Regions from separate parts of the Homo sapiens genome. Here all the other regions are linked to region 2. Evidence: promoter capture Hi-C in 16 types of primary human blood cells and fetal thymus (Javierre and others, 2016). All regions are on one chromosome and are shown on one strand. The core of a region is centred on a gene start or on the middle of the fragment in contact, and the rest is flanking DNA. Distances in the headings are between cores, read along the strand shown. Region 1 overlaps BRWD3 (bromodomain and WD repeat domain containing 3). Region 2 holds the start of HMGN5 (high mobility group nucleosome binding domain 5). Region 3 has its middle 21 kb from the start of BRWD3. Region 4 overlaps BRWD3 (bromodomain and WD repeat domain containing 3).

Evidence for each region. Contacts are between HindIII fragments. The CHiCAGO score rates a contact against its expected background, and 5 or more counts as called.
Region 1: a fragment that was not itself captured here is called in contact with the fragment with the promoter of HMGN5 in region 2 in 2 of 17 cell types (activated CD4 T cells and non-activated CD4 T cells); the score reaches 6.4 in activated CD4 T cells.
Region 3: a contact is called between a fragment that was not itself captured here and the fragment with the promoter of HMGN5 in region 2, in 1 of 17 cell types (neutrophils). The highest score is 5.9, in neutrophils.
Region 4: a fragment that was not itself captured here is called in contact with the fragment with the promoter of HMGN5 in region 2 in 2 of 17 cell types (neutrophils and non-activated CD4 T cells); the score reaches 6.8 in neutrophils.

The regions. Positions count from the first base shown.
Region 1 is chrX:80,745,272-80,748,626 of GRCh38, reverse strand. BRWD3 (bromodomain and WD repeat domain containing 3) reads left to right here. Exons shown (of 41, transcript NM_153252.5): 7 at 2,898-3,058. Among named protein-coding and RNA genes, the nearest start is that of BRWD3, 63 kb to the left of the region's middle. The HindIII fragment of the contact is 3,502 bases long and covers 108-3,355 here.
Region 2 is chrX:81,200,520-81,203,984 of GRCh38, reverse strand. It overlaps HMGN5 (high mobility group nucleosome binding domain 5), which reads left to right and starts at 2,072. Exons shown (of 7, transcript NM_030763.3): 1 at 2,072-2,248. SH3BGRL (SH3 domain binding glutamate rich protein like) reads right to left here and starts at 1,883. Exons shown (of 4, transcript NM_003022.3): 1 at 1,740-1,883. The coding sequence starts at 1,784. RefSeq lists enhancers at 1,688-1,857, 1,978-2,227. The HindIII fragment of the contact is 6,013 bases long and covers 1-3,465 here.
Region 3 is chrX:80,828,751-80,832,225 of GRCh38, reverse strand. No RefSeq gene overlaps it. Among named protein-coding and RNA genes, the nearest start is that of BRWD3, 21 kb to the right of the region's middle. The HindIII fragment of the contact is 6,417 bases long and covers 1-3,475 here.
Region 4 is chrX:80,778,754-80,781,980 of GRCh38, reverse strand. The region is part of intron 6 of BRWD3 (bromodomain and WD repeat domain containing 3); the gene reads left to right. Among named protein-coding and RNA genes, the nearest start is that of BRWD3, 30 kb to the left of the region's middle. The HindIII fragment of the contact is 1,403 bases long and covers 963-2,365 here.

The sequences.
Region 1 (3,355 bases), core at 609-3,108, 460 kb after region 2:
AACAAAAGAAAAGACTCAGAATCAGAGATGAAAGTGGAAACTGAACAGACAAATAACAAGTAATGAGATTGAGTCGGTAATAAAAAGTCTTCCATCAAATAAAAGCTTAGGACCAAATGGCTTTTCTGTTGAATTCTACCAAACATTTAAAGCAGAACTTACACTAATGTTTTTCAAACTCTTCCAAAAAATTGAAGAGGAGAGAATACTTTCAAATTCATTTTATGAGGTGAGCATTACCCTGATACCAAATTCAGGCAGTGTTAATACAGGGAAACTAAAGGCCAATATCCCTTTTGAGAATAGATGCAAAAGGCTGGGTGCAGTGGCTCATGCCTGTAATCCCAGCACTTTGGGAGGCCGAGGTGGGCAGATCACCAAACCTGTGTGATCATTTCAATAGATGCAGAAATAGTATTTGACAAAATTCAACATGTATTCATGATAAAATCTCAACATAAGAGGTATAGAAGGAATGTATCTCGGCTGGGCATGGTGGCTCATGCCTGTAACACCAGCACTTTGGGAGGCTGAGGTGGGCGAATCATCTGAGGTCAGGAGTTCAAGACCAGCGTGACTAACATGTTGAAACTCCATCTCTAATAAAAAGATGCCCATTCTCGCCACTTATATTCAATGTAGCACAGGAAGTCTGAGCCAGTGCATTTAGGCCAGAAAATGAAAGAAACAAATGAAAATGAAAGAAACAAAATGCATCCATATAGTAAAAGAAGGAGTGAAATTTTCTGTTTTCTGATGACATGATCTTATATGTAGAAAACCCTAAAAATCCACCAAAAGAACCCTCTTATAACTGATATACAAATTGAGTAATGTTGCAGATTACAAAATGAACTTGACAATCTACATTGTTTCTATACTCTAACAATGAACTATCCAAAGAACTCAGTGAAACAATTCCATTTACGATAGAATCTAAGAAAGTACTTTGGAGTAAATTTAAGTATAGGTGAAAGAGCTGTATAGTGAAAACTATAAAACATTGATGAAAGAAATTGAAGATTCAAATAAATGGAAAGATATCCCATGTTCATGGATTTGCTTTCTATCTCCTGCAGCTCCCCTTCTCAAAATTGCTTTTCTGTTTTGTTTTTTTTTTCCCCTTCTATTGGTAATGATGTTTTTTGCTTTTATACTGCAAGCAGTGATTTTAATCTGGGGCAGTTTCTTACCCTAGACAACATCTAGAGATATTTTTGTTTGTCACGACTTAGTGTGGGGGGGATCCTACTAGCATGTAGTGGGGACAGGTGAGGGATGCTGCAAAACACCCTGCAATGGAAAGTCCCCACAGCAAAGAATCATTCAACGGAGAATATCAATAGTTTAAAGGTTGAGAAGCCCTGCCTTAAAGTAACCTTTCTCCCCTGCATCTACCTGCAAAGTATGAAGAGACAAAAGCCAAGCAGAAGTAATGGTTGATTGTTTTAAGGAACTCAGAGCAGTAAGAAATGTTTCACTGGAGAAGGAAGATTTCTGAAGTCCCAAATTAGGGTACCAGTCCTTCCTATCTTGGAGTCATGGGATTTTCTTGTGGTTGAGATGGGAACACCTGCCAAAAAGAAATCCTCTTGCCTGATACTGATGCTTATGCAGTTCCTCCCATTATTTACTCAGCATCTTGCAGTATTACATAACTACTCAGGTCTCTTATGTGTTCTAATTGTTTATATTCAACATGTCACTGATTTTGCTATTCATTATTCATTTTTTGTCATTTTGTCAGTTAAAATGGCCAGTGGATCTGCCTTTGCCTGAAAGAAAGACTTCATTGCTCTTAAAATTGTGAGATGTTGAAAGATTTCATATTTTTGATTGTGGCATGGTTCTAATCATACTAATCTAGCTAGAACTCAGTTCTTGCTTTAATCTTGCCCTGCTTGAACATGAAGCTATTTTCATTTTGTACTATATTATTTATGCAGTATGGTAAAATGTCACTTTGCCTCAAGGTGACCTTTGAAGTTATAGGGAGCCTATGTTTTGATTAAAATACATTGTGTGGGGTGTTAAGCACTTTTAGTGTATAAGGGAAGATGAAGGATTTCACAGGGCAAGTGGGTGGCTGTAAATTTTTACATAGAGATCAAGATTTGTTTTTTAGCATGAGCAGAATCCACGTGGTATTTGGAGAAGAATTGTGTAGACTTATGCTATGTTATGGCTTTTTTTTTAAGAAAATGCAGAACAAGGCAAAGCGAACAAGAAAAAAAAATGAGATAGGACTTAAAATGACTTCATAGGAGATGAAGCCTTTAAAGTTCATTGTTAACTACAGGGAGAGCCTCTAAATTCAGAAACCAAAAGGAAAGAACCCATAGACAAACCTAGGTTGTTTGTAACATAAAATATTTGTAACATCATAGATTTCCTTATCTTTTCACTGTATAGTTTTTTTTTACTTGTATTACTCTTGAATTTTTAGGGGCAGTCATACATATGGTGGATAGGTGTGAGGAGGTAGGACAATAATTTATGAAATTCCTGTATAATTTTTTAGAGGAATATACTTAACCAAGTACAGTTTTATTCTAAAATTTCTTCATGTTATAGAAAGATTTACCTATATATTTAAAATGACAGTCTCTTTGACTATAGCGTACCAAGAAAGGCAAAAGGAGAATGTGCTTGAGAAACCACAGTAAGCCAAGCAGAATATCAGTCCCTTGGGATTTAATGGAAGAGTATTCTTGGTGCTTTCTTGTAGTAAACTGGAGTTCATAAAATCATGAACTATGTAAGGGAATTTAGACTTCTCACAGGGCAGAATTGCTATAATATATGTACTCTGTTTTGTCTCATCTTAATATTTATGACTTAATTTCATGAAATCAGTTTCACTTTTAAGTTTTAAGTTAATTTCGTATTTTTTTCAGTGAATATCACCTCTGCCAGGCAATTAACCGGCTGTAGTCGCTTTGGTCATATTTTCCCTTCATCTGCTTACCAGCACATTAAGATGCATAAGAGAATTCTGGGGCACTTGTCATCTGTCTACTGTGTAGCATTTGACCGAAGCGGGAGAAGAATTTTTACAGTGAGTGTAAAATTTATAATATGGTAACATATATAGAATTACAACAATTGAAGCCAGACTGCATGGCATTGCATTGTGCTTTGTAAGCAGTTCACTTTTTTTGGATATATGGGTGCAGAAAAAGATGAGTGGAAATTGAAAAAAGTTTCTCATTTTATATAAGTAAACGAATGAACAAAAATGTTTACTATCTTCTTGGAAGTTTAATTTTAAAAAGTTAAATCTTCAGAAGACCTTATATTCTAGAAGTGGTTAATTTATGTGAAACAAGTGTACTCAATTTCATTTCATTCAGTT
Region 2 (3,465 bases), core at 823-3,322:
GAGGTTCAATGGTACCCCAAACCTTGCACAGTATACCCATGCATCAAATCTGCACATGTACCCTCTGAATCTAAAATAAAAGTTGAAATCTAAATAAAAAAAAAAAGGAGTCCAATAAAGGAAATAATAGAAGACAGCAGCCATTTCTAAGGCTCTTGGAAACTTAAGACTTAACAAAGAGAGGTGCAGTTATTCTTACTTGAATAGAAATTCTGAAAGCAGTTTCTTGTTGAATCTACTTTTAAAGAAGGGGTAGAGGAAGGAGAAAGCAAAGAATAAATAACAGTATTGAAACTGTATGACTCCCAAAGCAAAACTAACTGCCTGATCTGTTCAGTCTCATTAGGGGTTTAACTAAAGGCATTAAGTTGGACTTTACAATTATTGGATTGAGTTGAGACTCTGAGCAACTCAAATTTTACTTTGAAATATTAGACAACATGTATGGAAAATAATAAAGCAAGAGGCTCATAAAATTAGGTCCAAAGGAAATATAAAAGGTGTTCTTTTTTTTAACCTAAACTTATTCAAAAAATGTAAGATTAAATTTTCTGATATTCCAAAATTGCATAAACATATCCACACATGGTGGCCAGAGAAGACAAAGTTCAAATATCAAGGTTCTTGTGATTTAACATAACCTCCACTTCCATTCCACATCCTCTCAGGTGTAAATAAACAAGCCAAAAAATAAAAACACACAACAACCTGGATTAGCTGCTGCTCTAAAGCTCAAGAAGAGGGAAGGGGTTCCTATACCCTACAATCTGAACCCACACATCTGTTCTTGCCACTGTCTGCCTTTCTCTTGAGTTGTAAAAAGCAGAAGCACTTTCATTTATCATGGATATACACTCATCTTGCACCCCAGTTTATCATATTCTCCCGACAGCTGCTGAAAATTTGTTATTCTAAATTAAGAGTAAGTGAATCCATGAAAGAGAAAGTCCTATCATTTGAAGCAGCAGCAACTCAGGCTGCCACTACACAAGAAGCCACTGAGCTCCCTATCCAGTTCTCAATATACTTGAAGCAGTGAGAGAAATTTAAAAGTAAAATATTTTGAAAGAATAGAAACAGTCAAAATAAGGGACAATATGGGGGGAAAACTGAATCTCGTGTCATATTAAGTTAAAAAAAAATTTACGTCATTGTTACCAACTTCCCCTCCCAATTTGTCTAGTTCTAACAGGCCTTCAAGCTCAAGTTAACCACTTTCTTCTACACACTCTCAAAATAACTCTATTACCAGGGTCTCACTCACCCAGAATAATTACAATGCCTCGGTAGGCCTCCACTCAATCCCCACCAGTTACAGCATGTGTACCCCCATCCTTTACAGAAGTGCACTCCTCCTTGTCTCAGTACTTAGGGCGTATTCATCAAATGTCTCACTCTTGAAACTCACCAGTGTGCGATTTTACTTGACTTCACGTAACCCTAAAGACCGTATAGCACCATCTCCCATCTCCCAAAACTTGGTAGCTTTCGTTTTCCTTCAAAGCAGAAATGTGCCCCCCAACGTCACGAAGCAAACAAAGCTGAACTCTATGTGGAAAAAAAAAAAAATGAAATCGATGCAACAAAGGGAAAAAAGGGAAGAAGAAGGGTGGGATCGGGGATGCATGAGTCTTCCAAAGGAGAAGCTGCCAGAGGAACTTCTGCATTTTAATGGTTCTGGGGCAGCAGAGGACTGGTGTGTAGGAAAACAACAAAGGTGGACTCCCCACTCTCCTTACCGCTGTAGAGCCAGAGGAAGATGCAATATATACACGGATCACCATCCTGGGAACAGCGGCTGCGGTTGTTTGGGTCCTGAAAAGGGCTGTGGAGCAGCTGCAGCAATGGCTGGAATCCAGCTAGGGGCTGAAACAGCGGTTGGCAGAGAAGGGTGGGGGAAGGTGGAAGGAGAACTCGCCAGAGCCCCGCCTCCGCCTTTAGCAGCTTCCACCGAGCTCTCTAAGCGCTGCAGTTCCAGCCCAAAACCCCGGAAGGAACAGGCTGTTTGCATCAATTCTATTTTTTTTTAATAGGGAATCTCGAATAGCACCGCGAGATCTGTTGAAACATTGATTTTTGACGATTCCTTCCCTGAGAAGAGGGCGAGGAGAAGAAGAAAGAAAAAGGAGAACTGAATTGAATTAGATTAGCATGAAGGACCTTTTCACGCGGAGACTAAAAGTACTGCGCATAACTTCCTGCTCAGAAATATATGCAAATAAGAAGACAGATCCTGAAAGAGCAAGCTGTATGTTGAAAACCCATGTTCTCAAAGCCTTGCGCATTTTAAGATTCCTATTACGTAGTGATTTTTCTGATCTTAGCTCGTTGTAGGAATTAGGCACTAAAGTACTGAGCAATGCTGCAGAGTTTTGAAGGAAAGTTTCAGGTTTCCTTAAGCCCAGAAATGGCAGGATTGGTTTTCTTTTTGAATTTTGTGTTTTGTTAAATTAGGGAACCCTGCTTCCGTGGGAATTTGCAGGAGGCCTGATTGGCAAGTTTAAGAATGAAGGAATAAATTACAAAGAAAAGATTGAAAATATTGTGTAAAAAGATGGATGATTTTTGTTTTGTTTTGCTTTTTAACTGACTGAAGTAAGGGATTTGGGAGAACATATTGCAGATGTTGAAATGGTGAAGAGAGAGATCAGATGGTTATTTGTAGCTCTAAGGAAATGAGCAAACAGTTAATAATGTCCAGAGACAGACCATATACTTCAAAGTGTAGTTTTAGGTTCCCAGATTATGTTAAATGAACAGAAAAAAAGGAATTTGCAAGATGAATGAGAGTGGAGAGGAGTCAGTCGCTTGTCCTACTTCTTTTCCTTTGCTGTTTTTCCACTGTCTCCAGTCTAGTGGTTTACTGTCTTTGCCTAGGCTCAGTGCTTACAATAGCTTTGTTAACTGTTCCCTACCCACAGGTTTTCCCTTCTCCAATCTGTCTTAAATACTAATTCCAAATTAATCTCTTTACATGTTGTCCTTAAAACAACCTCAAGAGGTGGGTACTATTACATTAATTTTACAGATGAAGAAACTGAAACTCAGAAAAATAGTTTTCCTAAAATCATATGGTTAGTACATTCCAGAGTTAGGAACTCCAGAGGCCACCTTCTTATTTTTTTTTAATTATACTTTAAATTCTAGGGTACATGTGCACAACGTGCAGGTTTGTTACATAGGTATACATGTGCCATGTTGGTTTGCTGCACCCATCAACTCGTTGTTTACATTAGGTATTTCACCTAATGCTATCACTCCTCCAGCCCCCCACCCCCCGACTGGCCCCGGGGTGTGATGTTCCCTGTCCTGTGTCCATGTGTTCTCATTGTTCAACTCCCACATATGAGTGAGAACATGTGGTGTTTGGTTTTCTGTCCTTGTGATAGTTTGCTTAGAATGATGGTTTCCAGCTTCATCCATGTCCCTGCAAAGGACATGAACTCATCCTTTTCTATGGCTGCA
Region 3 (3,475 bases), core at 608-3,107, 370 kb after region 2:
TAACTTCCTTCTTAGAATTGCTTTTGCTGTATCTCATAGGTTTTAGTACATTGTGTTTCCATTTTCATGGAATAATGACCTTAAGGGGTAATGCAGGTAATATCTGAAAAATAATTTTAATTTCCCTTTAAACTTCTTTATTGATCCATTGGTTATTCAGGAGCATGTTTTTTAATATACATGTATTTATGTATTTTCTGCAGTTCCTTCTGTTATTGAATCTAGTTTTATACTATTTTTGTCAAAAAGATATTTGAGGCCAGGGAGTGTAGCTCATGCCCGTAATGCCAGCACTTTGGGAGGCTGAGGTGGGAGGGCTGATTGAGCTTAGGAGGTCAAGATCAGCCAGGACAACATAGTGAGATCTTGTCTCCACAAAAAAAAAAAAAAAAAATTAAAAAGTTAGGCAGGCATGGTGGTATATACCTGTAGTCCCAGCAGAGGTGGGAGGATCACTTAAGCCTAGGAGGTGGAGTGTGCAGTAAGACATAATCACAATACTGCACTCCAACCTTGGCAACAGAGTGAGATCCTGTCTCAAAAAAATAAAACAAATACATGATATGATTTCAATTTTCTTAAATTTGTTAAGACTTGTTTTGTGGACTAAAATATATATTTTTTCCCAGAGTGTTCCATGTGCAGTTGAGAAGAATGTGTATTCTACAGCTGTTGCATGGAATATTCTATGAATGTCTGTTAGGTACATTTGTTCTAGAGTACAGTTTAAATCTGATGTTTCTTTGTTGACTTTCTGTCTGGATGATCTTTCCACTGTTGAAAGTGATGAGTTGCAGTCCCATAATATTATTATATTGCAGTCTATCTCTCCCTTCAGATTGATTAATATTTGCACATGTGTGCAGATGCTTCAATGCTGAGTGCATATATATTTACAGTAGTTATATCCTCTTGCTAAATCAACCATTTTATCATTATATAATATTTTTTGTCTCTTTTTACAGTTGTAGTTGGCCATCAGTGATGCAGGCTAAAAGTTGAGTTCATTTTGCAGGGGCTAAGTGTTTTCCTCTGGCAACAAGGCAGGTTTGTAGCCTCAGTCTAAGGCACCAGTCTGGAGTCAGGTACCATGGGGTGTGCCCAGTGCTGGGTTCTACTGTGGCAGGCCCGGTATTGGGATCTAAGGCAAAGTTTCTCTCTTTTCCCAAAAAGGATGGTATGTGTCCCCACTCTGTGTTGCATGAAGTTGTGGGAGAGGTAATGCAGGTAATGTCACACTGTTCTTTCTACCCTCTCCAATGCGTCTTTTTTTTATTATGCTATAACCAACTACTGTGATCTCTCATCTGGTTCTCTTAGATTTTGTGAAGGTATTTTCATGTATGGAGAATTGTTCAAATTATTGTTTCTGCAGGGAGATGACTGCTGAAGAGTCCTATCCCACCATCTTGCTCCAGTTTCTCTATGTCTTACCACAGTCAATTTTAGAACATTTCATCACATCCCCCCCAAAACCCACATCAATTGGCAATCACCCCCATTTTATCCCAAGCCTTTCAGTCCTAGGCAACCAATAATCTACTTTCTATCTTAATAATTATTCTAATCTGGACATGTCATATGTGGTGTTTTGTGAATGAATTCTTTTAGTATAGTATTTTCAAAGTTCATTCATGTTTATACTATGTATCAGTACTTCTTCTCTTTAAATTCTGGAATAATATTTTATTGTGTGGATATGCTATATTTTGTTTACCTATTCATCAGTCGATGGACATTTAAGTTGTCTCCACTTTCTTGCTATTATGAAAATTCATGTACAATTTTTGAGATGGATATGTGTTTTTAATTCTCCTCAGTATATATCCAGAAGTGGAATTGTTGGGTAACTCTGTTTAGATAATTGAGGAACTGCCAAATAATGTTCCAAAGCAGTATATGAAGGTTCCAAATTACATTCCTATCGGTAGCATATGAAGGTTCCAATTTTGCCACATCTGTGTCAACATTCGTTATCTATTTGATAACAGTCATTATACTGTGTATGAAGTAATTTTGATGTGTATTTCTCTTTTGGCTAAAGAGGCTGAGGATCTTTTCATGTAATTATTCAATTTTTTTTGTCTATTTTCTAGTTGGGTTATTTACCTTTTTATTTTTAATTTCTAAGAGATTTTTACATATTGAAGCTCCTTATGTCAGATACATAATTAGCAAATAATTTTCCCATTATGTAGATTTTCTTTCTGTTTTCTTGATAGTGCCTTTTGAGGCACAAAAGTATTTTATTTTGATGAAGTCCAATTTATATACATATATATATATATATATATATATACACATTTTTTTAACTTGAGCTTTTGGCATCATACTTAAGAAACCATTTTCAATTCCGAGATTATGAAGATGTATGTCTATGCTTTCTTCTAATGGTTTCATAGTTTTAGCTCTTACGTTTATGTCTTTGATCCAGTTTGAGTTCATTTTGTATATGGTGTGAAGTAGAGCTCCAAATTCATACTTTTTCATGTGGATATCCAGTTGTTTTAGCACCATTTGTTGAAGAGACTATTCCTTATTCCTTCCCCCATTAAATTCTTTTGACATTCTTGTCAAAAGTCAATTTACTAGAAATGCGAAGGTGTACTTCTATACCCCCAATTATTTTCTATTGATCTATGTCTATCCTTATGCCAATACTTCACTGTCTTAAATACTAAAACATTGTAGTAAGTTTTGATATCAAGAAGTGAGTCCTCCAACTTTGTTCTTTTTCAAGTCTCTTTTGACTATTCTGGTACTTTTCATTTCCAAAATAGTTTTAGGATCAGTTTGCCAGTTTCTGGGGGGGGAAAAACCACCTGGAATTTTTACACACATTGTATCATTAATACGTCTGTAAATTAATGCAATGCCTGTGAAAGTATTGCAGTATTAACAATAGTGAGTCTTCTGATACATAAACATAGGCTCCCTTTCCATTTGTTTAGGTCTTCTTTAACTGCTTTTAACAGGTTTTTGTGGTTTTTAGTGTAGACGCCTTGAATGGCCTTGGTTAAATTTATTCTCAACTATTTGATTCTGTTTGGTGCTACTGTGAATGGAATTGCTTTCTTAATTTTAGTTTCAGAGTGTTCACTGAAAGTATATAAAAATACAACTGATTTTGTACATTGATTTTTTTTATCCTGAAGATTTACATAACTCATTTATTCGTTATAATAGATTTTAATGGATCATTTAGGATGTTCTACATAAAAAATCATGGCATCTATAAATAGAGTTTTTATCTTCCCTTTCTAAACAGGATGTCTTTCATTTCATTTTTCTTGCCTAATTGCCCTTGCTGGAACCTGCCATAAAATGTTGAACAGAAGTGATGAAAAGAGACATCCTTTTTGAGCTTAATCCCTAAGATCAGTTAAGAATAAGCTCAGTCTTTACCCCATGAAGTATTATGTTAGCTGTGGGGTATTTTATAGATGCCTTTTGTCAAGTTGAAGTAGTTCCCTTT
Region 4 (3,227 bases), core at 415-2,914, 420 kb after region 2:
TGTCATTGGTATTTTGATCGGGATTGCGTTGAATCTGTAGATTACTTTGAGTAGAATGGACATTTTAACAATAATGATTCTTATAATTCATGAATATGGAATATCTTTCCTTTTTTTGTATCTTCAATTTCTTTCATCAGTGTTTTATAGTTTTCATTGTAGAGATCTTTCTCTTCTTTGGTTAGGTTTATTCCTAGGTATTTTATTTTATTTATAGCTATACTAAATGGGATTACTTTCTTGATTTCCTTTTCATATTGTGCTCTGTTGGCATATAGAAATGCTACTGATTTTTGTATGCATGCTTATATTTCTAAACTGAGGCAAGGGTATGATGCAATAAGACTGTATTTTTAAACATTTTTTTCCCGAGGAAATCTCAACTGCACGACCCCTACTATGCCCCAGTTCAGCAGGAAGCAGTTAGAGCAGTCATCGGCCAACCTCCCCAACAGCACTTGGGTTTTCTTGTTGAGAGGGGGGACTGAGAGACAGGACTAGCTGGATTTCCCAGGCCGACTAAGAATCCCTAAGCCTAGCTGGGAAGGTGACCACATCCACCTTTAAACAAGGGGCTTGCAACTTAGCTCACACGTGACCAATCAGGTAGTAAAAATAGCTCACTCAAATCCTAATTAGGCAAAAACAGAAGATAAAGAAATAGCCACTCATCTATCGCCTGAGAGCACACGGGGAGGGACAATGATCGGGATATACCCAGGCATTCGAGCCAGCAACGGCAACCCCCTTTGGGTCCCCTCCCATTTTATGGGAGCTCTGTTTTCACTCTATTAAATCTTGCAACTTCAAAAAAAAAGAATTTTGTTTTTTATCTTTAGTACAATTGGCATATAGCAATATCCTGTAATTTACATAGTAAGCTTGTAATTTACACTGTATACAGCTCAGGACCCTTGCATTAATTCTAAAGCCAAATTAATATTTACGTGTTGCTCTAAGCTTTTATTTAGCATTGATTGACTCTTGACTTATTGGCCATTGTGTCGTTATATGTCACTCTTCATGCCAGAATTCACTTGGAGGTGAGGAATCTATCTCTTGTTTATATGTAAATGTAAATGGAAAGAAAGTAGTCTAATTTAAACTGTTTATCTGGCTGAGGTGACTGGGTTTCTGCCAGGAATATTTGTCACCCTCTCTAATTTTATGTAGTTCCTATATCTTGCCTATGTATCATACTTTTGCTAGGTTTTGCTTTTTGTGGCCTGCCTCACTCTACTTACCACCTTCCTCCTCTTTGTACTCTCATAATTGTGCCTGAAGTGAGTTGCTTCTGAAGCCATTACTTTTATATACCTGGAGAAGATCAAGAGATTCTTGTCACACCTGCAAGTAATTAAACTGGAATATAAACTCCATCTTTTGTATTTTCCACATTGTAAGTGCTCACTAAATATTAAATAGATGGAAGTGCTATGATTGTTGCCACATGGAAACTGAAGTATCCTTTTAAGATGTGTTTATGGTTTTATATAGCCTATATGTGTTTCTAGCCCCTTATATCCATTTCTGAAATCAGTATTGTAGTAATATTAGGATTAATAATTTAGTATCTTTTTAAAAAATGAAACAGATTTTATTATATGAGGGCTTATTTTATTATATAAAATATAATGAAAAAAGTATTTTCTCCATTTAATCCTAGTATGAACATGTTTTTTCTTTCCTCATTATTATTCCTTTAGATTTTTCTTTCAGTATACACCAAAGTATTAATCTTTTGATATTTGTTCTATATGTTTAACTCAGTACTTTATAGAGATAGAACTTTATGCTTCACAAAGGGAAGAGGTAAAACAGTGCCAGGTTTGTTTAGTTGGAGGAAAAGGCAGTCTGAAACTTCTGTGTATATTAACCAAATTAAGTTAAAAAGTTTAGGAGAGGATTTAAAAAAAATAAAGATTTGGGATGTTTATCATTCCAAATTATATAAGTGAACTTTGCAGAAAGCCTGAAAGGAATTGTAAATAATATTTCTTTGCCATATTTCACTTAATATTACCCTAGCAAAAAGATGTTCAATGGCCATGAATATGAATATCAATAGCCTGTAGAACTTATTAGTGTTATTTAAGTTTTACTGTGGATTGGTGTTATGAGATGTGATTGGCATCAACTTTGGAGACTGTATACTTTTACTATTGCTGGTTAAGGTTTTAGAGACATAATTTGATCCATAGAATCAAATCCATGAAAGAAGTAATTCTATACCTTTGTAATTTTACTAGAATTATCACATTTTATTCATATTCATTTTTGTCGCTTTCGTGGCTTCTTTCAAGATTTTAGTCTATATTAATCTGTTTAGTTGTTGGAGTTATTTTAGGAAACCCCCAACGAAGCTTCACCAAAAACTAGCTGGGACTACAGGCATGTACTGCCATGCCTGGCTAATTTTTTTATTTTTTTTGTAGAGACAGGGTTGCCCAGGCTGGTCTTGAACTTCTGACCTCAAGCGATCTGCTTTGCTTCCCAAAGTGTTGGGATTACAGGCATGAACCGCTCCACCTGGCCACTTTCCAGTGTTTTTGGCAGTATTTTCTTAGTCTATTATTGTCCTCTCTACTTAATAGAAACTAATATGCTTACTACACTTTAACCAATCAGAGGATTGCATACATTCTATTTTCTTACTTTTTTTTTTGAGACAGAATTTCTCCCTTGTTGCCCAGGCTGGAGTGCAGTGGCACAATCTCGACTCACTGCAACCTTCACCTCCTGGGTTCAAGCGATTCTCCTGCCTTAGCCTCCTGAGTAGCTGGGATTGCAGGCATGCGCCACCACGCCCAGCTAATTTTTTGTATTTTTAGTAGAGATGGGGTTTCACCATGTTGACCAAGCTGGTCTTGAACTCCTGACCTAAGTTGATTCACCTGCCTCGGCCTCCCAAAGTGCTGGGATTACAGGCATGAGCCACCATGCCCGACCACGTTCTGTTTTCTAATTAAATTGTTTGTTTTTGAGATGGAGTCTTGCTCTATTGCCCTGGCTGGAGTGCAATGGCACCATCTTGGCTGACTGCAAACTCCACCTCCCAGGTTCAAGCAATTCTCATGCCTCAACCTGCCAAGTAGCTGGGATTACAGGTGTGCACCACCACGCTCAGCTAATTTTTGTGTTTTTAGTAGAGACAGGGTGTCACCATGTTGGCTGGGCTGGTCTCAAACTCCTGACCTCAAGTGATCCACCTGCCTTGGCCTCTCAAA